7 separate regions of the Homo sapiens genome follow, and all the other regions are linked to region 2. The links are contacts of gene promoters, found by promoter capture Hi-C in blood cells and fetal thymus (Javierre and others, 2016). All regions are on one chromosome and are shown on one strand. The core of a region is centred on a gene start or on the middle of the fragment in contact, and the rest is flanking DNA. Distances in the headings are between cores, read along the strand shown. Region 1 has its middle 30 kb from the start of NAGA. Region 2 holds the start of NFAM1 (NFAT activating protein with ITAM motif 1). Region 3 overlaps SEPTIN3 (septin 3). Region 4 overlaps TCF20 (transcription factor 20). Region 5 overlaps NAGA (alpha-N-acetylgalactosaminidase). Region 6 overlaps WBP2NL (WBP2 N-terminal like). Region 7 holds the start of SEPTIN3 (septin 3).

The links. Contacts are between HindIII fragments. The CHiCAGO score rates a contact against its expected background, and 5 or more counts as called.
Region 1: a contact is called between a fragment that was not itself captured here and the fragment with the promoter of NFAM1 in region 2, in 3 of 17 cell types (naive CD8 T cells, total CD4 T cells and naive CD4 T cells). The highest score is 6.1, in naive CD8 T cells.
Region 3: a contact is called between a fragment that was not itself captured here and the fragment with the promoter of NFAM1 in region 2, in 7 of 17 cell types (total CD4 T cells, naive CD4 T cells, activated CD4 T cells and 4 more). The highest score is 9.9, in total CD4 T cells.
Region 4: a contact is called between a fragment that was not itself captured here and the fragment with the promoter of NFAM1 in region 2, in 16 of 17 cell types (total CD8 T cells, endothelial precursors, naive CD8 T cells and 13 more). The highest score is 18.4, in total CD8 T cells.
Region 5: a fragment that was not itself captured here is called in contact with the fragment with the promoter of NFAM1 in region 2 in 7 of 17 cell types (activated CD4 T cells, non-activated CD4 T cells, naive B cells and 4 more); the score reaches 7.9 in activated CD4 T cells.
Region 6: a fragment that was not itself captured here is called in contact with the fragment with the promoter of NFAM1 in region 2 in 5 of 17 cell types (non-activated CD4 T cells, activated CD4 T cells, total CD8 T cells and 2 more); the score reaches 5.8 in non-activated CD4 T cells.
Region 7: a contact is called between the fragment with the promoter of SEPTIN3 here and the fragment with the promoter of NFAM1 in region 2, in 11 of 17 cell types (naive CD8 T cells, activated CD4 T cells, naive CD4 T cells and 8 more). The highest score is 13.0, in naive CD8 T cells.

The regions. Positions count from the first base shown.
Region 1 is chr22:42,038,900-42,041,844 of GRCh38, forward strand. It overlaps a transcript of WBP2NL not described here. Among named protein-coding and RNA genes, the nearest start is that of NAGA, 30 kb to the right of the region's middle. The HindIII fragment of the contact is 4,262 bases long and covers 1-2,945 here.
Region 2 is chr22:42,431,006-42,433,705 of GRCh38, forward strand. NFAM1 (NFAT activating protein with ITAM motif 1) reads right to left here and starts at 1,398. Exons shown (of 6, transcript NM_145912.8): 1 at 1,232-1,398. The coding sequence starts at 1,352. The HindIII fragment of the contact is 8,354 bases long and covers 1-2,025 here.
Region 3 is chr22:41,988,379-41,991,312 of GRCh38, forward strand. It overlaps SEPTIN3 (septin 3), which reads left to right. Exons shown (of 12, transcript NM_001363845.2): 7 at 1,189-1,306. Among named protein-coding and RNA genes, the nearest start is that of WBP2NL, 8.9 kb to the right of the region's middle. The HindIII fragment of the contact is 8,041 bases long and covers 1-2,934 here.
Region 4 is chr22:42,160,225-42,162,924 of GRCh38, forward strand. TCF20 (transcription factor 20) reads right to left here. Exons shown (of 6, transcript NM_001378418.1): 6 at 1-1,134. Among named protein-coding and RNA genes, the nearest start is that of CYP2D6, 31 kb to the left of the region's middle. The HindIII fragment of the contact is 4,008 bases long and covers 1-2,700 here.
Region 5 is chr22:42,056,846-42,059,624 of GRCh38, forward strand. It overlaps NAGA (alpha-N-acetylgalactosaminidase), which reads right to left. Exons shown (of 9, transcript NM_000262.3): 9 at 1,489-2,779. It also overlaps a transcript of WBP2NL not described here. Among named protein-coding and RNA genes, the nearest start is that of NAGA, 13 kb to the right of the region's middle. The HindIII fragment of the contact is 1,371 bases long and covers 745-2,115 here.
Region 6 is chr22:42,006,944-42,009,870 of GRCh38, forward strand. The region is part of intron 1 of WBP2NL (WBP2 N-terminal like); the gene reads left to right. Among named protein-coding and RNA genes, the nearest start is that of WBP2NL, 9.6 kb to the left of the region's middle. The HindIII fragment of the contact is 4,325 bases long and covers 1-2,927 here.
Region 7 is chr22:41,967,996-41,970,695 of GRCh38, forward strand. SEPTIN3 (septin 3) reads left to right here and starts at 1,448. Exons shown (of 12, transcript NM_001363845.2): 1 at 1,448-1,682. The HindIII fragment of the contact is 14,934 bases long and covers 1-2,700 here.

The DNA of each region.
Region 1 (2,945 bases), core at 52-2,551, 390 kb before region 2:
AGCTGGATTTTTTTTTTCTTTTTCGAGATAGGGTCTTACTCTGTTGCCTAGGCTGCAGTGCAGTGGTATGATCATTGCTCACTGCAGCCTCAATCTCCTGGGCTCAGGTGATCCTCCTGCCTCAGCCTCTCTTACGTAGCTGGGACTACAGGTGCACACCACCATTCCTGGCTAATTTTTTTTTTTTTTTGAGACAGAGTCTCACCCCGTTGCCCAGGGTGGAGTGCAGTGGCACTGTGTCGGCTCACTGCAATTTCCGTCTCCTGGGTTCAAGCAATTCTCTTGCCTCCATCTCCCAAGTAGCTGGGATTACAGGCGCCCACCACCATGCCTGGCTAATTCTTGTATTTTTTTTTAGTAGAGACAGGGTTTCACCATGTTGGACAGGCTGGTGTCGAACTCCTGACCTCAGGTGATCCACTCGCCTTGGCCTCCCAAAGTGCTGGGATTACAGGCTTTTTTTTTTTTTTTCCAGTATCAGTGAGGTCTTCCTGTGTTGCCTAGGCTGGTCTCAAACTCTAGAGCCCAAGCAATCCTCCTGGCTCAGCGTTCCAAAGTACTGTGATCATAGGTGTGAGCCACTACGCTCAGCCTGGAATGTTTTTGATTACTGATTCAACTCCTTGTTTGTTATTGGTCTGCTCAGACTTTCTGTTTCTTCTTGATTCGGTCTTGGTAGTGTGTGTGTTACTAAGGATTTATCCATTTCTTCTAGGTTATTCCATTTATTGGCATATAGGTTGTCATAATAGTCCCTTATGATCCTTTTTATTTCTGTGTCATCCATTGTAATGTCTCCTCTCTTATTTATGATTTTATTTATTTGAATCTTCTTTTTTAATCTAGCTAAAGGCTTGATGATTTTGTTGATCTTTTTAAAAAGCCAACTTAGTTTTTTCTATTCTCTATTTTGTTTATTTCTGCTCTAATTTTTCTTATTTCTGTCCTTCTGCTAACTTTGGGTCGAGTTTGTTCCTCTTTTTCTAGTTTCTTGATTTGTACAGTTAGGTTTTTTTTTTTTTTTTCCTCGAGATGAAGTCTTGTTTTGTTACCCAGAGCTGGAGTGCAGTGGCTCAACCTCAGCTCACTGCAACCTCCGCCTCCTGGGTTCAAGCGATTCTCCTGCCTCAGCCTCCAGAGTAGCTGGGACTACAGGCAGGCACCACCATACCCGGCTAATTTTTTGTATTTTTAGTAGACATGGGGTTTCACTATGTTGGACAGGCTGGTTTCGAACTCTTGACTTCAAGTGATCCACCCGCCTTGGCCTCCCACCATGCCTTGGCCAATGTTAGGTTCTTTAATTGAGATCTATCTTCTCTCTCTCTCTTTTTTTTTTTTTAGACAGAGTCTTGCTCTGTTGCCTAGGCTGGAGTGCAATGGTGCGATCTCAGCTCACTGCAACCTCCGCCTCCTGGGTTCAAGTAATTCTCCTGCCTCAGCCTCCTGAGTAGCTGGGATTATAGTTGCCTGCCACCACGCCTGGCTAATTTTTTGTATTTTAGTAGAGACGAGGTTTCACCATGTTCGCCAGGCTAGTCTTGAACTCCTGACCTCAAGTGATCTGCCTGCCTCGGCCTCCCAAAGTGCTGGGATAACAGGTGTGTGAGCCACCTCGCCTGACCGAGATCTTTCTTCTTTTTAAACATAGGTGTTTAATGCTATACATTTCCCTTATGGAACTGCTTTTGCTGATTCCTGTAAATTTTAGAAAGTTAGAATTTTATTTTTGTCTCAAGATATTTTAAAATTCTCTCTGGATTTCCTCTTTTATCCAGTTGTTCAAGAGTGTATTGTTTTTATGAATTTGTGAATTTTTCTATTTTCTTTATGTTACCGATTTCTAGTTCTTTCCACTGTGGCCTAAGAAGATACCAGGTATTATTTCAATCTTCTTAAATTTGTTAAAACTTGTTTTGTGACTTAAGATGTGACCTATCCTGGAATATGTTCCATGTATACTTGAGATGAAATTGTATTCTGCTGCTGTTGGCTAAAACGTTCTGTATGTTAGGTCCATTTGGTGTATAGTGTTATTCAAATCAGTTGTTTTTTTATTGGTTGTCTGCCTGAATGTGCTATCCATTATTAAAAGTGGAATATTGAATTCTCCTACTATTAAATTGTTTTTAACCTCTTTCTTCATATCTGTCCATATTTGATTTATATATTTAAGTGCTCTGATGTTCAGTACATACATGTTTATAATTGTTATAGCTTCCTGTTGAATTGAAACTTTTATCATTATATGACTTTCTTTGTCCCTAGTAACAGTTTTGGACTTAAAAGTCTGTTTTGGCTGGGCACAGTGGCACACGCCTGTAATCCCAGCACTTTGGGAGGGGAGGCTGAGACAGGCAGATCACGAGGTCAAGAGAGCGAGACCATCCTGGCCAACATGGTGAAACCCCATCTCTACTAAAAATATATAAATTAGCTGGGCGTGGTGGCACACACCTGTAGTCCCAGCTACTCGGGGGGCTGAGGCAGGAGAATCACTTGAACCCAGGAGGCGGAGGTTACAGTGAGCCGAGATCATGCCACTGCACTCTAGCCTGGCAACAGGGCGAGGTTCTGTCTTTAAAAAAAAAAAAAAAAAAAAAAAGTCTGTTTTGTCTGATAAAAGTATAGCCACTTTTGCTCTCTTTTGGTTACCATTTGCATGGAGTATCTTTTTCTATCCCTTCACCTTTAGTCTGAGTGTCCTTATAGCTAAAGTAAGCCTTTAGCTTACTTCTTTTTATATTGTGACTCTATTACCAAATTTTTTTGGTTATAGTTATTCTTGATATTTTTATTTTTCAACTTTTGTAGTGTTATGGGTAAATTGGGCACCACCATTACAGTGTTATATTATTTTGTATTTGACTATATTTACCTTTGCCTGTGAGATTTATGCTTTCACATTGCTGATTAGGATGTTTTAAATTCCATTTGAAGAAATC
Region 2 (2,700 bases), core at 148-2,647:
TGCAGCCTGGGGAGGTACACACAGGTCAGCCTTTGCCTCCCCAGGGTAAGTTTCCGGTGAAGAACATTCTTTACAAGTAAGAGGATCCTCTGAGCCTACTGGCCGAGGGGCCCAGCTTGGGGCTGAGGCTGGCCTGGGGCTGAGGCTGGCCTCTACTTACCGGCTAGGTCTTGAGCAAACGAACTGGCTTCCCTGGGCCTCCTTTTCCCTGTCCTTAAAATGGTGCAGGTGAGGACAATAGGAGCCCCAAGGGGTGCTGTGAGGGTGGCCAGTACGTGCCCTGCTAAGGGCTCCATAAAGCCTAATTTGTGGTCATGAGAGGGGGTGCAGCAGGACAGGGTGGGGGCAGCTCTTGAAAGCCCCATAAACTAAGAGAATAGAAAGGAAGGCACCCTGTCTCCACAGTGGAGGCCACCCCTTTGGCCAGAGGGAGGGTTGGCTGCTGCCCGGCCAAGGAGGGGCAGAGAGAATCTGGCAGAATTCACTGAGCCCTCGTGCTGGCAGCCCTGGAATGGGACCCTCCTGGGCCGTCCCTGGCCTGATGAACTGGCCCTGAGGCTACCTACCCCACAGCTTGGCTCGGATCCCGGCCACCCAGCTTCCAAGAAAGCCTGGAACCAGGAAAGGAGCGCCGCTGGCGTGGAAAGACACACTTGCATCCTAAAACACTTGGCCTCTGGTTGTGTTTCAGGAACTGGGAGGTGAGACCCTTTCTGGTGACTGACAGTTTTGTGCCTCTGGGCGCAGAGCCCTGTGGCTGGCCCTGGTATCCCCCCCTCCCCCCTCTCCCCGCTCTCCCTGGCCAATGCCAGCAACAACCCAGAGGGTAGCCCCACCACTTGCCAGGTTCAACGCAGTGTCCCCCGCAGCAGCCACGTGAGGTTCCTCGGATGGGGAGCTGTCCCTCCCCCCTGCCCCGCCCCTGGCCCCAGCCACACAGCGCCCACCCTCCTTGTTTAAGGGCCAGGAGGCCAGACTGCTGGGGCAAAGCTGTCACAGCAGCGAGGGAGAGAGCGCTGTCCCCCTCCCCTTCAAAAGCCACCTTGGCAAGGCATTAGCTAAACATCTTCTCGGTCCCAGAAGGCTTCCCCTGTGAAGTCTGCAGCGTTCAAACGACAACCAGCAAATCCCCAGAGACAGGTCCCTGGGAATTAGCTGCGCCGGGCGGGATGAAAGCCGCTCTGATGTTCTGGAGCGAGAGAGTAGAGAGAAGGAGGAAGACAGACACTACCTGCCAGTCGCAGGGTCCCGGGCAGCAGCAGCACGCCAAGGAGGAGCCAGGGGGCTGCGGGGAGCCCAGGAGGGCGTGGGAGGCCTGGCAGGGCCCGCCACCTCACAGGCTGGTTCTCCATCTGGGGGCCTGCTTGTCTGCGGCGACTCTTTAGTTCACAGGAGGGGACGGCCGGCGCTGACAGCTTCCCCTTTGCTTTCCCCACGAAGCTCCTCCCTGGCAGCCCCTGACCTTCCGCTCAGAAGCAAAGCTGGAACAGCCCAGCAGGGTGGCCGCCAGATGAGGAACCTGGCACTGAGACTGGTCCAGGCCACACAACCAGAAGAAGAGCTGGAGACGGGACCCAAGCCTCCCCACTCCAACCCCTGGTGGGCTTCACCCTGTCTCGGCCCCTTTCCAGCAGGGGCCCCGTCCAGGAGACACTGGTAACTGTGCAGAGGGATCATGGGATTTCCATGAGTGACTTCGGGCCTTGGTTTAGCCTCTCACTTCTGAAACACTTTTAAAACGACCACAAGCATGTTCACACAAACTTCTCTAAAATATTCTGAGAATCCCTTAATAATGTGTTTACCAAAGGTAGGTTTTTTGGTGAGGGGTGGTAGGGAGGCTGGGGTGAAGGGCAGGAGCCTCATGTTCCCAGCCCTAGAGAGGGCCAAACACCCAGGGCAGGTGAAAGGCAGGCTGCCCATCATTCACCCAGCGAGAACCTCTGTGGGTCCCCTGCAGAGGCCCAGGAGACGCCTCCTCTCTGGTCCATCTCTAACGTCAGCTCCTCCCTGTGGCTGCCCTAAAGCTTAGCTCACTCGGCCTCCCAACTGTGAGACCCTCGAACTGCTTCCCCATTGGCTGCAGGTCACAGCCCCTGCTCTCACTTCTAGCAGCATCAGCCGGGGACAGGAATTGTTTGCTGCCGGGACCCCCTTCCCCAGCAGACTGGGAGCCCCTCACCCTTGGCACCCACACATCTGCCTGCGTGTCTGGAGTGGCAGAGGAAAGGGGCTGGGGTGTGGTGATGGCTGGTGGAGCTGGAGGCACCTGGTACATGGAAGACGCAGGCGGGAAGGTGGCTGAGTTTCAGCGCATGCTGAGCGCTTACCTCCCTTCTCTGCAGGTGTCCCTTCACTCACCAGATAAATGTGATGATCCCAGTTGTACAAAAGAGAAGACCTCGGCCCCAGGAGGCAAAACAACATGCCTAGGATCAGGGCAGGTCTGTGGGGCGGGCATTTGAACTGCCAGTGGTATGATGTCCGAGCCTTCTCCCACCCTGCTACTGCCTGCTCAGGTGTGTCCAGCTGCAGCCCCCGGTGACGGCATCATGAGATCCATTTCAGTTCTTTGCACACATGCTTTTCCCTGGGCTGCTCCAAACATGAACAGTGAAAGCCTAAAGACGTTTCCACCAATGCCACGAGCACTGGGAGGCTGGCAAGAGCAGGGGCCGCCCACCAGGGGAGGAAGACATA
Region 3 (2,934 bases), core at 303-2,802, 440 kb before region 2:
TGGAGATCCTAGGGGGCAGGCCAGAAACCTTCCTGCAGAGACCGGGGGAGGGGGGTCCCATAACATTACTAAGCCCAGCTGCTGGGCCAGAGTTAAGCTCTTCAGAGGATGGCACAAGCAAGGTAAGCCCCAAATTTTCTAGGAACCAGGCAGTGATGGTAGGGGGAGAAGAGAGATGAAACAAGACCCCTGGGCTAGACCCAGGAACTCAACAGAAGGCTGGTTTTATCCCTCCCTAGGCTTCGACCCCCTGGTCAGAATGAACCATCAGACAGACTGACTTAGTGAGTCCCTGAGATTGCAAAATAGAGCCAAGTTGGGGTCTCAGAGCCTGAGGTAGGATGGGGGCATAGACTGTCAGATTGTGGGAAGGGCAAGGCCTCCAGTTTGGCCCTGCAGGACTAACTCTGGGGGCTAGGAGGAGACCTGTCAAGAAGTAGTCTGATAGGCAGAACAAGATGTACACACTAGGCACGGTGGCTCTCGCCTATAATCCCAGCACTTTGGGAAGCCGAGGCAGGAAGATTGCTTGAGTCCAGGAGTTCAAGACCAGCGTGGGCAACATGGCAAGACATTGTCTCTACACAAAATTTAAAAATTAGCCAGACATGGTAGTGCGCAACTGTGGTCCCAGCTCCTCTGGAGGCTGAGGTGGGAGGATTGCTTGAGCCCTGGAGGTCAAGGCTGCAGTGAGCCAATGACCATATCACTGCACTCCAGCCTGGGTGACAAAGTGAGACCCTGTCTCAAAAAAAAAAAAAAAAAAAAAGACACACACAGTGTTGTTTTTTTTTGGTTGTTGTTGTTTGTTTTTTGTTTTTGAGACAGACAAAAAAGGAAAAAAGACACACACGCACAAGGACATATGAGTAGAGACAGTAGTCCACAGATGCTCCCAGGAGAAAGAAATCCCTGAGTCAGAAAAGATGTCCTGAAGTGGTGGTTTGAGGGGGGCTTAAAGAGAGGCAGAATCTGCAAGGGGACTGAAAAAGAAAAAGGCAGGTGTTGAGGCTGCTCTACAGACGGCAAGGCAGTGGGGCTGTGTCGGAGACGAGAGGTAGCAGCCTCTTGGCCTCAGCCAGATGCCCAGCCCAGTCCTCTTCTCCTGTGGGTGTCCTGGAGTGGTGGTGGTGGCTGAGTTGGGGAGGGCAAGGTGGCTCTGATGATTCTGCCTTTTCTGTGCCCCAGCTTGCGACCTCTGGATCTTGAGTTCATGAAACACCTCAGCAAGGTTGTGAACATCATCCCTGTCATTGCTAAGGCTGACACCATGACCCTGGAGGAGAAGTCTGAATTCAAGCAAAGGGTGAGAAGGCCCCCTGTCTTCTTTTCCTGTTCCCATCCCCTCCTTTCTCTCCGCTGGGTTCAGGCCATCTCCTAGCCCTCATCATTCTGCCTTCACCCCCACCCTCAACCCTCCCCCAATTCTCCACCCCAGCCCCCTTCTTAACCATTCAAGAGGCTGAGGTTGGTGGTATCTGGGGACTATGATGAAGAAAAGATGGCACAGCTCTGGGCTGCCTTCTTCCCACCCTCCAAACCTACCTGTGAAGACCACTGAATACATGTATCACTGTGTACATAAGAAATCACTCCTCCAACGTTAGCCTAATTGAAGGGCTAGACTAATTAGTGAGTCAACTGGCCACTAGTCCTCACTGGCATCTTCTCTTTGTTTTTTTTTTGGAGTCTCTCTCTGTCGCCCAGGCTGGAGTGCAGTGGCGTGATCTCGGCTCACTGCAAGCTCCGCCTTACGGGTTCACGCCATTCTCCTGCCTCAGCCTCCTGAGTAGCTAGGACTACAGGCACCCACCACCACGCCTGGCTAATTTTGTTTTTCTCTTTTTAGTAGAGATGGGGTTTCACTGTGTTAGCCAGGATGGTCTCGGCTAGTCTTGATCTCCTGACCTCGTGATCTGCCCGCCTCGGCCTCCCAAAGTGCTGGGATTACAGGCGTGAGCCACCGTGCCCAGCCCTCACTGGCATGTTCTATAAGCTCAGCCCTGTGCTGGATGTACAGGGTTGGGGAGGGGCGATTTGAGAGAAATGAAAAGACAATTGCTGCCTTTAAGAAATTTACAATCCAGTTGGGCGTGGTGGCTCATGCCTGTAATCCCAGCACTTTGGGAGGCAGAGGCGGGTGAATCACGAAGTCAGGAGATCAAGACCATCCTGGCTAACACGGTGAAACCCCGTCTCTACTAAAAATACAAAAAAATTAGCCGGGTGTGGTGGCGGGTGCCTGTAGTCCCAGCTACTCAGGAGGCTGAGGCAGGAGAATGGCATGAACCCGAGAGGCGGCGCTTGCAGTGAGCTGAGATCGTGCTACTGTACTCCAGCCTGGGCGACAAAGTGACACTCTATCTCAAAAAAAAAAAAAAAAAAAAAAAGAAACTTACAATTGGCTGGGGGCGGTGGCTCACGCCTGTAATCCCAGCACTTTGGGAGGCCAAGGCGGGTGGATCACCTAAGGTCAGGAGTTCGAGACCAGCCTGGCCAACATGGTGAAACCCCATTTCTACTAAAAATACAAAAATTAGCTGGGCGTGGTGGCATATGCCTGTAAGCCCAGCTACTAGGGAGGCTGAGGCAGGAGAATCACTGGAACCCGGGAGGTGGAGGTTGTAGTGAGCCAAGATCGCACCACGGTACTCCAGCCTGGGCAACAGAGCAAGACTCGGTCTCAAACAAACAAACAAACAACAAACAAACAAAACTTATAATCAAATAGAAAATGAAGAGGTCCTGGATGGTTTCCTGGAGAAGGCAAGACTTAAGTCGACCTTGAAAGAGGGCAAACAGTCTCGGAGTAGGGGGAGCCTCACCTTTCTTCCTTCCAATCAGGAATATAACATGCAGGGGTCTGAGCACTCCCCAGTGGGCTCACCTGTGCTGCTTGTGTAAATCCCAGTCTCGCGGACCCTGAGATGAGCA
Region 4 (2,700 bases), core at 43-2,542, 270 kb before region 2:
AAAACAAAACAACACAACATAAAGAATCACGTAGCATGGGGCTGCCTATCTGACAGGTCCTCTTTTCCTTTATAAAAATGAAAGCAAAAAGAAAAAGGGGTTAAATGGGTGTTCCTGGTCAGCTTAACCCACTCTGATCACAGCGACAGTCCCTCCCCGTCCCTGCCTACAGCTCACACTGCCAGCTCTGGCAACACAGGCCTGGACCTCCTCCCATCCCCACGGGTCCCTGTGGGTCAGGGCACAGCTGCCTGGAATGTGCTGAGGACAGGGGGCCCCAGAGGAGGGTCATCCCTTGATTTTGCTGCTGCTGTGTACACTTGATGGGGTCCTTGAGGTCCTCACCAGCCACAGTGACCCAGGACACAGCTATGACCTCAGGCATCTGCCAATTTCACCCCCAAAAAGAAAAAATTAAAAAAAAAAAACCATAAATAAATAGTGTTTCTGGAAATGAAAAAAAATTTATTTTTGTGTTTAAACATCATTCCCCTACTCTTGAAAACATGGACCATCCCTGTATTTCCCCCTCCCCCAAAACCTTCCCACTTTGAGACAAATTAATGACAAAAGGATGGTTCTGCTGTGGTTTGCTTTTTCAATCCTGGGTCTAGTGTTTTCTGAACTGGTGTGAGACAGGCTAAAGATCAACGCCACACACACACCCCGTCCTTCATGAGATGAGGGTTTGTTCAGTTCAATCTCACATTTAAATTTCACTTGTCATCGGAACAAATTTGGAGATCTTTAACGAGATAATTTTAAAACAGAATCAAAAGGGATAGCGCACCTTTCATTTAAACAAAGTCTTTCCAGACTAAAAATAGATTTATATATATATATTTATCCCTCCCTTTTAATTCCCCCCACCCTTTCCCCATCATCCCACCCCTCCCCCCTCCCCCCACATTGTCACTATGGAGATTGTGTCCATGGAAACAGCCATTCCAACGTCTTGGGTCTTTCTTTCCTGTGGTGTCACTGGTTTGAGTGTGATGTGAGAACTTAAGGAAGTGCTGGCATGGGCAGGCACGCGGGCGGGGCGGGGCGGGGCAGGGCAGGGTGTGGCTGCACGGTAGGACGATTTCCATTCCATCACGAGTGTCCACCACCTTCTCATCTCCACAGTCTCACCTGGAAGACAAGGGACACACAGTGAAGGCCAGGAGCCTCCACAGGGTCCACCACCAACAGCCGCTGTTCCGTGGTACCCCTGGGAGCTTTCAGCAGGGAGCCTGCACTCACGCCCCTCTGCAGATGTGCTGCTGATATGGGACACACCCGAGACCAATGCCAGGGCCACTGTGTGGCTCTGGATCTGGAATGTGATTAAAGGCAGCAATGACCTAGTGGGGGTGCTGGGGTTGGACTCTGAGGGCTCCTCAGGGCATGTCTGCCTTCCTAGTGCATAAAGGAACCAGTACAGCAGAGAACTCCCTGACCTCAGGGCAGGCCCCACTTGTGGGGCAGCTGGTGGGGTTTTGCCAGTGTCAGGACCCCAGTTGTGACTGAAACCTACAGTACCTGGTCAATCTGTGGAAGAAACTTCTCGAAGTCCAGCCTTTTAGGACAGTTTCACAGCTGCCTCTAGTCAACACAGCTAGTTGTTTGTTTTTGAGACAAGACATCGCTCTGTCGCCTTGGCTCCCTGCAGCCTTGACCTCCTGGGCTCAAGCAATCCTCCCACCTCAGCCTTCCAAGTAGCTGGGACTACAGGTACACGCCACCATGCTTGGCTAATGACAGTCTTTTTTTTTTTTTTTTTTTTTTTTTTTTGAGACAGTCTTGCTCTATTGCCCAGACTGGAGTGTAGTGGTGTGCTCTTGGCTCACTGCAGCCTCTGCCCCCTGGGTTCAAGTGATTCTTGTGCCTCAGCCTCCCAAATAGCTGGGATCACAGGTGCACGCCACCACACCCGGCTAATTTTTGTATTTTTAGGAGAGATGTGGTTTTGCCATGTTAGGCTGGTCTAGAACTCCTGGCCCCAGCTGATCTGCCCACCTCGGCCTCCCAAAGTGTTGGGATTACAGGCGTGAGCCACTACACCTGGCCCACAGTCAGTTCTTCATGCTTAAAAAGAACACTCTTCCCATGGCCTCTAACAGGGAGGGCAGGTTTTCTGAGGCTCAGACAGAGCTGGACTATGTTAATCCTTTCGACCTCTCAGGAACCTGAGACCCCTAGGTCTCCCATCCCCAGGCTGGAGGGCTTCTCTCCTCTTCCAGCCCATGTGCAGAAGGGGATTCTGATGGCCCACGTAGGACAGATGGATTGTACCAAAGGTCCCTGTGGAACGCTTCATGGGCCATCTGATGTGGAAAGGTCTCAAAGACAAACAGCAGTTTCCTAGGAATCAGTCCAGTAAAATTTCACCAGAAGCCAGAAGTGGTGGCAGCCTTGCCCCTCCTTCACTTGCTATCTGCCAATCACTGTGCTTAAGACTGTCACTGGGGCTCACCTAACTGCTTCCTCAAGACCAATTTGGTGCCCTCCCCTGACAAACCCCAAGAACCCAAGTGTCACCAGCCCTTTCTGCTTCCATAAAGTTCACACACGCAGAACTGCTAAGGCGGCTGGGGCCTGCGGGAGCTAAGATTGAGCTGTTCCCAAGCACGTACATGCACATGCTCTTGCCCAAGGAGGTTCCTGACTACTTGGCAGAAAACACCAATAAGCAGGAACACACACAGAGGCCATGGC
Region 5 (2,779 bases), core at 180-2,679, 370 kb before region 2:
ACAAACAATCCAATTATACTTAGTTATTTTTAAATGTACCCATTGCCTTCTTGTTTCCATGGTTTCTGATGAGAAGTCAGTTGTAAATCTTATTGAGACTCCCTTGTGTGATGAGTTGCTTTTATCTTGCCTCTTTCAAAATTCTGTCTTTTGAGGGTTTGATTATGATATGTCTAGGTATGGAGCTCTTTGAGTTTAACCTACTTGGAGTTCACTGAGCTTCTTGGATAGGTAGATTAATATTTTCCATCAAATGTGAGACATTTTCAACCATTCTTTCTTCCAATATTCTGCCCCTTTCTCTTTTTTTATGTGTATATGGGTACATTTGGTGGTATCCCAAAGGTTTTAGAAGTTTTGCTCATTGTTCTTCATTCTTGTTTCTTTCTTTTTCTCAGAGAGGTTAATTTCAACAGATCTGTCTTCAAGTTTGCTGATTCTTTTTCTGTCAAATCTACTATTATTAAACCTCTTCAGTGAATTCTCATTTCAACTATTGTACTTTCCAACTTCAGAATTTGTGCTTTCTTCCCCACTACAGTTTTATCTCTTCTTTGTTATTCTGTTTGGGCATCATTCTTATTCTTTCCTTTATTTCTTTAGACCCGGCTTCCTTTGGCTCTTTGAACATGTTTAAAATAGCTGATTTAAAATCTGGTAATAAGGTAAAATACCACATAGCTTGCTGTTTCTACTAGAATTCAACTTTTTTTTTTTTCAGTTGAAGTTTTCTGGGTTGCCGCAAGCTTTTGGCTAATTTCCAGAGTTCTGTGAAAGTTGATTTTGATAGTATGTGGCAGGTTTTTCAATGCTTTTATGAAGGGAGCAAACTTTCAGTAGTTCGTACTGGACTATTTTACTGGATCTTGATTTAGACAAACTATAGAGATTTTTGAGACAACTGGCAAAAACTGAACATAGATTGGTTATTAGATTATTTTAAAATTATGTTTTTTTAGATAGGAAAATTGTATTAAGGTCATATATATATATATATATATACACATATATGTGTGTGTGTATGTATATATATATATATATATATATATATATATATTTTTTTTTTTTTTTTTTTTTTTTTTTTTTTTTGAGATGGAGTCTGGCTCTGTCACCCAGGCTGGAGTATGGTGGTGCCATCTCGGCTCACTGCAACCTCCGCCTCCCAGGATCACGCTGTTCTCCTGCCTCAGCCTCCCGAGTGGCTGGGACTACAGGCGCCCACCACCATGCCCGGCTAATTTTTTGTATTTTTAATAGAGATGGGGTTTCACCGTGTTAGCCAGGATGGTCTCAATCTCCTGACCTTGTGATCCGCCTACCTCAGCCTCCCAAAGTGCTGGGATTACAGGCATGAGTCACCGCGCCCGGCTCATATATGTATTTTTAAAGCCCTTATCTGTTAGAGACATAGTGGTTTTTAGGGTTTTCTGAAATTTCCTTTCAGATACTCTAGCTCACACATCAGAAGAGCATGTGCAGGAAGAGAGATGAAATAATGGTACACGTTGATGGTTACTGGAGCTGGATGCTGGGTACATGGAGGTTCACTCTACCATTTTATTTTTGTATTTGAAAGTTTTCATGATAAAAAGTTTTTAAAAAGAGAAAGGGTACCTTGCGTCCAAACAAGTCTGTATTTAACTGAAAAAAAAAAATAATTGCATTCCTAACTGGCCTTGAATAGAAGGGAATAAATGTCCTGGGAGATAGATGGCATGTTTGTTGAAAGAATGAAGGGTGAAGAGATAGGATCAATCAGGCACCCCCAGGACAAAAGGAAAACTTATACAGCAAGTAAAGACATGTAGCTATCTTGGGCTGAAAGGTAAGGGAATTAATTGGTCAAGTCCAGGCTCAACTCTGGCCCCCAACTCCCAAGTCCATGGTCTCAACTCATTTCCCACAAAGCCTTCCTGGAGCTAGCAAGAGAAGGTGTTCCCACCTGAGACTATTCCATTTTGCCTGAACAGCACTATGAACAAGACCCAAAGGCAGAGCTATGCACGGAGGGGCAGGCCTGGGATGAGGTAGGCTTCTGTCCTAAGTTTCTCAACAGCCTCAAGACATCAACTGGGGAAAGGAACTTTCTCTGGTGACCCTATACTTAACCAGTAAAGCTTCAATCATCTTAAATGATGTAACAAAATGTGCATATGTAAGTTTTTACACCATACCCTAAATACAAGGACCTCAGAACCCTGAGGAGTATGGGAGATCCACCCAGAAAATACTCCTTGGGCAGCACAGTGCAAGGCCTGGGGCACTGGGTGCTCCTGCATTCAAAGCCCAAGGAGGACCTAGCTAGGTTGCTCTGCCACTAGCTCTCTCCAAAGGGGAGAGCCACCAGGGAAGACAAGTGCCCTGTAGCCTTGGCTAAAAGAGGAGGGCTTGGGAAATACGGACCAAAGCAAGACAGGCAAGAACCCATCATTCCTTCACTTTGACTGTTACCCCTGTCCTTAGGAAGAGGGACAGGAAATCAATTTTAAGACACAACTCCTGGACAGGTTTGTGGACACATCTGGGGAATATGAACCTCCTTTGCAGCCAGGTTGGGAGAGAAATAAAGGAAAAGAAGTAGGGGTTGGGGTGGAGCCACCAGAGAGAAGAGCAGGCTGAGGTGCTGGGCCAGGGGCACTGCTGGGCAGAGCACAAGCTGCAGGACCTGGGAGCATTGCTACTTGGCCTCATTGTGTTGTCACCATCACCACTGCCAGCATACCAGGCACAGCAGGGGCAGCTCCTGGGTGTGAGGCAAGTCTGGCATCTCTAGGAAGTA
Region 6 (2,927 bases), core at 43-2,542, 420 kb before region 2:
GCTGGAAACCTGTCATTATAGAAAAATCAGAAGAAAAAATCTGTTATCCCAAATTTTTACCAGTAATGTTTGCATTTTGGTATATGTCCTTCTGTACTTTTCCACATGGAAATAAACAGTTTTTTTCTCCAACTGCTTTATAACTTATTTTCCTCATTTGCCAGTATATTGGGAATGTTTTCTAGTGTATCTACATCATTATTTTCAATGGCTGGTATTCCAGTGTGCATAAATCTTTACTCAACCCCTAATCTGGAATAGTCTGGGTTTTTGTTTTGTTTTTTGTTTGTTTGTGGTTTTTTTGGTCATTACTATAAACATTCCTGCAATGAACATTTTTGAAAACATAATTTTGCCTACCTGTCAAAATGTTTCTTTGGGATAGGGGAATTGTGAGGTCAGAGGATTAGACTTTTAAAAAGAGATTAAAAATATTTATTGAAAATATAAAAATCATTGTTCAAAATATTAAAGTATACATGACTTTACATTAAAATACACTTATTGCAGAATTGCCCTACAGAATTATATCAATTTACATTCCTCTCAGTACTCTGAGTGCCCACTTCACCATACTTTTCCCAACAATTCTGTTCCCATTAAACAATTCCCTCTATCCCTCTCCCCATGACACCTAGTAACAACCATTCTACTTTCTGTTTCTATGAATTTGACTACTTCAGATACCTCATGTAAGTGTAATGACAATATTTGTCTTTTTGTGGCTGGTTTATTTAACTTAGCGTAACATCCTCAAGGTTCGTCCATGTTACAGCATGTGACAGGATTTCCTTCTTTTAAGGTTGAAAAATATTCCATTGTATGTATGTGCCACATTTTGTTTATCCATTCATGCACTGATGGACATTTAGGTTGCTTCCACCTCCTGGTTATTGTGAATAGTGCTGCTATCAACATAAGTATTCAAATATCTATTTGAGACACTGCTGGCAATTCTTTTGGATGTATACCCAGAAGCAGGATTGCTAGCTTGTACGGTAGTTCTATTTTTAATTTTTTTTGAGGAGCCTCCGGACTGTTTTCCATAGCAGCTACTCATTTTACATTTCTAGCAACAGTGCACAAGAGTTCCGGTTTCTCCACATCCTCACCAACACTTGTTTTTCTTCTCTTCTCTTCTCCTCTTCCTTTCCTTTCCTTTCCTTTCCTTTCCTTTGCTTTCCTTTCCTTTCCTTTCCTTTCCTTTCCTTTCCTTTCCTTTCCTTTCTCCCTCCCTTCCCTCTCCCTCCCCCTCCCCCTCTCCTCCCCTCCCTTCCCTTTTTTTGACAGAGTCTCACTCTGTCACTCAGGCTGTAGTGTAGCAGCAGGATCTTGGCTCATTGCAGCCTTAGCTTCCGGGGTTCAAGTGATTCACATGCCCTCAGCCTCCTGAGTAGCCAGGATTACAAGCATATGCCACTACACCCAGTTTTTTGTATTTTTAGTAGAGACGGGGTTTCGCTGTGTTGGCCAGGCTGGTCTCAAACTCTTAGCATCAAGTGATCCACTCACCTTGGCCTCCCAAAGTGCTGGGATTACAGGCATGAGCCACCATGCCTGGACCTGTTGGTTTTTTAAATATTAACCATCCTAATGGGTATAAAGTGATGTCTCATTGTGGTTTTGATTTGTATTTCTCTGATGATTAGTAATGACAATCTTTTTATATGCTCATTGGCCATTTGTGTATTATTGCTCTTGTTGCCCAGGCTGGAGTGCAATGGTGCGATCTCAGCTCACTGCAACCTCTGCCTCCCAGGTTCAAGTGATTCTCCTGCCTCAGCCTCCTGAGTAGCTGGGATTACAGGTGCCCACCACCACACCTGGCTAATTTTTTTTATTATTTTTTTTCTAAGATGGAGTCTCGCTCTGTTGCCCAGGCTGGAGTGCAGTGGCACGATCTTGGCTGACTGCAAGCTCCGCCTCCCAGGTTCACACCATTCTCCTGCCTCAGCCTCCTGAGTAGCTGGGACTACAGGTGTCCACCACCACGCCCGGCTAATTTTTTCTATTTTTTAGTAGAGACGGGGTTTCACCGTGTTAGCCAGGATGGTCTCGATCTCCTGATCTTGTGATCCACCCGCCTCAGCCTCCCAAAGTGCTGGGATTACAGGCGTGAGCCACTGGGCCTGGCCAATTTTTTTGTATTTTTAGTAGAGACAGGGTTTCACCATGTTGGGCTGGCTGGTCTTGAACTACTGACCTCAGTTGATCCACCCACCTTGGCCTTGTGCTGGGATTACAGGGAGCTCTTTACATACTCTAGATATTAAGCCCTTATCATAAATACAATTTGAAATATTTTCTCCCATTCCATAGGTTGCTGTTTCATTCTGGTGATTGTGTCCTTTGATACACAATTTTTAAGTTTGATATAGTCCAATTTATTTATTTGTTCTTTTGTTGCCGGTGCTTTTGTTTTTTTATCCAAGAAGTCATTGACAAGTCCAATGTCACGAAGATTTTCAGTATGTTTTTTTCTAGGAGTTTTATAGTTTTGGGTCTTATGTTTAAGTCTTTAATCCATTTTGAGTTAATTTTTGCATACTATGTAAGATAAAGGTATGACTTCATTCTTTTGCATGTGGATATCCAGTTTTCTAAAAGGACATCATTTGTTAAATAGATTGTCTTTTCCTCACTGAGTCATCTTAGTACCTTTGTTGAAGATTATTTGATCAATTCTCACATATATGTGAAGATTTGTTTCTATTCTAGTCCATTGGTTTGTTTATCTTTAATGCCAGTATCATGCTGTTTTGGTTACTGTAGCTTTGTAATATACTTTGAAATCAGGAAGTGTGAATCCTCTTTGTTCTTCTTTTTAAAAATTATTTGGCTTTTTGGGGTCCCTTGAGATTCTATATGAATTTTATGATGTCGCTTTCTGTTTGTGCAAAAAGTGTTGTTGAGATTTGGTAGGGATT
Region 7 (2,700 bases), core at 198-2,697, 460 kb before region 2:
AAGAAGATCCAGGACCTTCATAACTGAGCTTTCCACCCAGGCATGGTGGCTCACGACCGTAATCCCAGCACTTTGGGAGGTGGAGGTAGGAGTATTGCTTGAGCTCAGAAGTTCGAGACCAGCCTGAGCTACATAGGGAGACCCCCGTCTCTACAAAAAATAAAAACTTAGCTGGGCGTGGTGGTGCATGCCTGTGGTCCCAGCTACTCTGGAGGCAGAAGTGGGAGGATCACTTGTGCCCAAGAGGCTGCAGTGAGCCATGATGGCGCCACTGTCTTCCAGCCTGGGCGACAGAGTGAAACCCTGTTCAAAAAAACTAATAACAACAACAGCAACAACAAACGAAACAGAGCTGAGCTAATATGGTAGCCACAGATTAAAATAAACTAAAAAATCCAGTTCCTTGGTCACTGTAGACACATTTTAAGTGATCGGTAGCCATCTGTGGCTAGTGGCTACTGTACTGGACAGCACAGACATAGAACATTTCCATTATCACTGAAAGTTGTATTGCCCAGCGCAGCTCCAGAAGCTCACTCGCTAAAGAGAGAGACACACAGGAGAGCAGACCAGACAACACAGTGTTGTGTGGGCTGCAATGTCCTCCTCGGTAAAAAGCAGGTGATGAGGCGGAGATTAAAGGAGATGCCAGGAGAATGCTTAGCCTAGTTCCTGACTCAGGGTGAGTGCTCGGAGGACATCTGCCATCACCGTACAGGACAGTACTATAGGATCTGTTTACATACCTATCTTCCTAGCAGACTGTGAGCTCCGCCCAGCCCTGGCATGGTGCCGGGCACAGAGCAAGTGCTCAGGAAATAGTAGCTGTTATCAGCACCATTGTTATTATCACCACTGCTATGACAGAGGCAGCCGAGGGCTGTGGGAACACAGAAGAGGGCTCCCATCCCAGCCCCAGGGCCAGGGGCTGCTGAGAGTCGGCATTGCCAGAGCCAGGCTGGGTGGCTTTGTGGTCCCCTCAGGGGCAGGCCTAGGGCGGGGTCCTCTTCACACCCTTAGGGTCTGGGTACAGGGTCCAGCTGGAGCAAGCTGGGGCTCAGGGAATAGTTGTGGAAGGAGCTCTAGCCTCCAGGAACTCCAGCCCCCTTGAGGAAAGACCAGGTGAGTGGGCAAGATGGTCTGAGGGTTGCAGAGCTGAACAGGGCATGAAGGGCACAGAGGCAGAGCCAGAGGGAGACTCGCGCTGGGACTACCAGAGTGCAGCCATATTTGGAGTACCCCTGTTTTTACTGCAGACTCCCCAGGCATCAAAGTCTGTGGGAGACAGAGCAGATTTGGGGAGGGCAGGCTGCAGGGAACCTCCCTGCAGGTGGCCGTGAGTGCCAGCCTGGCCGTTACCAGCCTCCCATGGCTCTTCAGGATTCCAGAGGCTCAGAGCAGCCATTCACAGCCGCCCACTCCTAGGAAGCCAGCCCCTCCCTGCACCAGAGCCCAGCCCAGCACGGTCTCCGGGGATGTAGCTGGTGGGACAGTGAGCAGAGGGCTGGGCCCTGTGCCTGGGGACTGTGGCCTGGAGGCTGAGCAGGAGCTGAGGAGGGGACCAGAGGGACAAGGCCCCTAAGCTGGCCACCATGGCCAGACTCTGAGTGCAGGGGAGGTGAGGGGCCTGCGTGTGCCTTATCTTCCCAGACACACTGGATCCTTCTTGTCCTCTGATCAAGGTAGGTGTGTAGGGGGGTGGAAGGGTGTGGGGGTTTGTGGGGGTGGGAGGGTGGTGGGGGTGGGGTGGGGAAGGACCAAGCAATCCATGGAAGATGGGAGTGCAGTGAGGGGATGGGGAGTCGGGTGATGCCCTCGGACACCCTGTCCTCTGGCCTGCTCTGTGTGTGGGTGTGCACACTGAGGGGAGCTGTTTGTGGCTAAGTGCAGGGTAAACGTGTGTGCCCAAGTGGATGTGGCTGTGCAGGAGGGGGCAGAAGTTCAGGGCTGCAGTGATAGGCCAGGTGGGAAAGGGTTGGAGGCCAGGACAGTCTTGGATACAAATATATGGCTGGAGAGGGATGAGGGGCTGGGGGCACCATTGTGAGGGGTGATGCCTTCCCTGTCCGGTGCCCTGCCTTCCCCGTCCCTGCTGCAGACCTCAAGGACCTGGCTACATGATCACTCCCCTCCCCATGAGCCCTCTGGAACTGACTCCTCCCACCAGCCCTGGCCTTGTCCCCCAGCTGCAGGTCCCAGCCTGCTGTGTTAAAAGCAACCAAACCAACTTTTTTCTAGAGGGTGAGTTACTTGGAGTCCAGAGTAGCAGGGAGTGGCCCATCTACTAAGACCACAGCCAGAGTCCTGAGCTTCATCCTCGACACCTCTTTGTGCCCACTCCCTACCCTGGGCAGTCCCGCCACTTCTACCCCTGTGCAATGCAGCCTCCTCCAGCCCCAGCCCTAGCTCTGCCCCTTGCACAGCCCACGGAGCAGAGAGTTTCAACTATGTCCTCATGGGATCCTGGCTTCAATTCTGTTCCCATCTGATCCCTCTGTCACACTGCCCGAGTGGCCGTTCCCACCTACAGATCGGAATGGGTCACATTCCCTGGCCTAAACTTTGCTGTAGCCTGGCCTGGACCCCAGCTCACCTGCAGCCTTGGCTCTCCCCTCCCTGCTACATACAGCCTAGGAGCCCCATGTTGGATTTTCAGAAAGATGCCACACTTTCTCACCTTTGGGCCTTCTGTAGGAACAG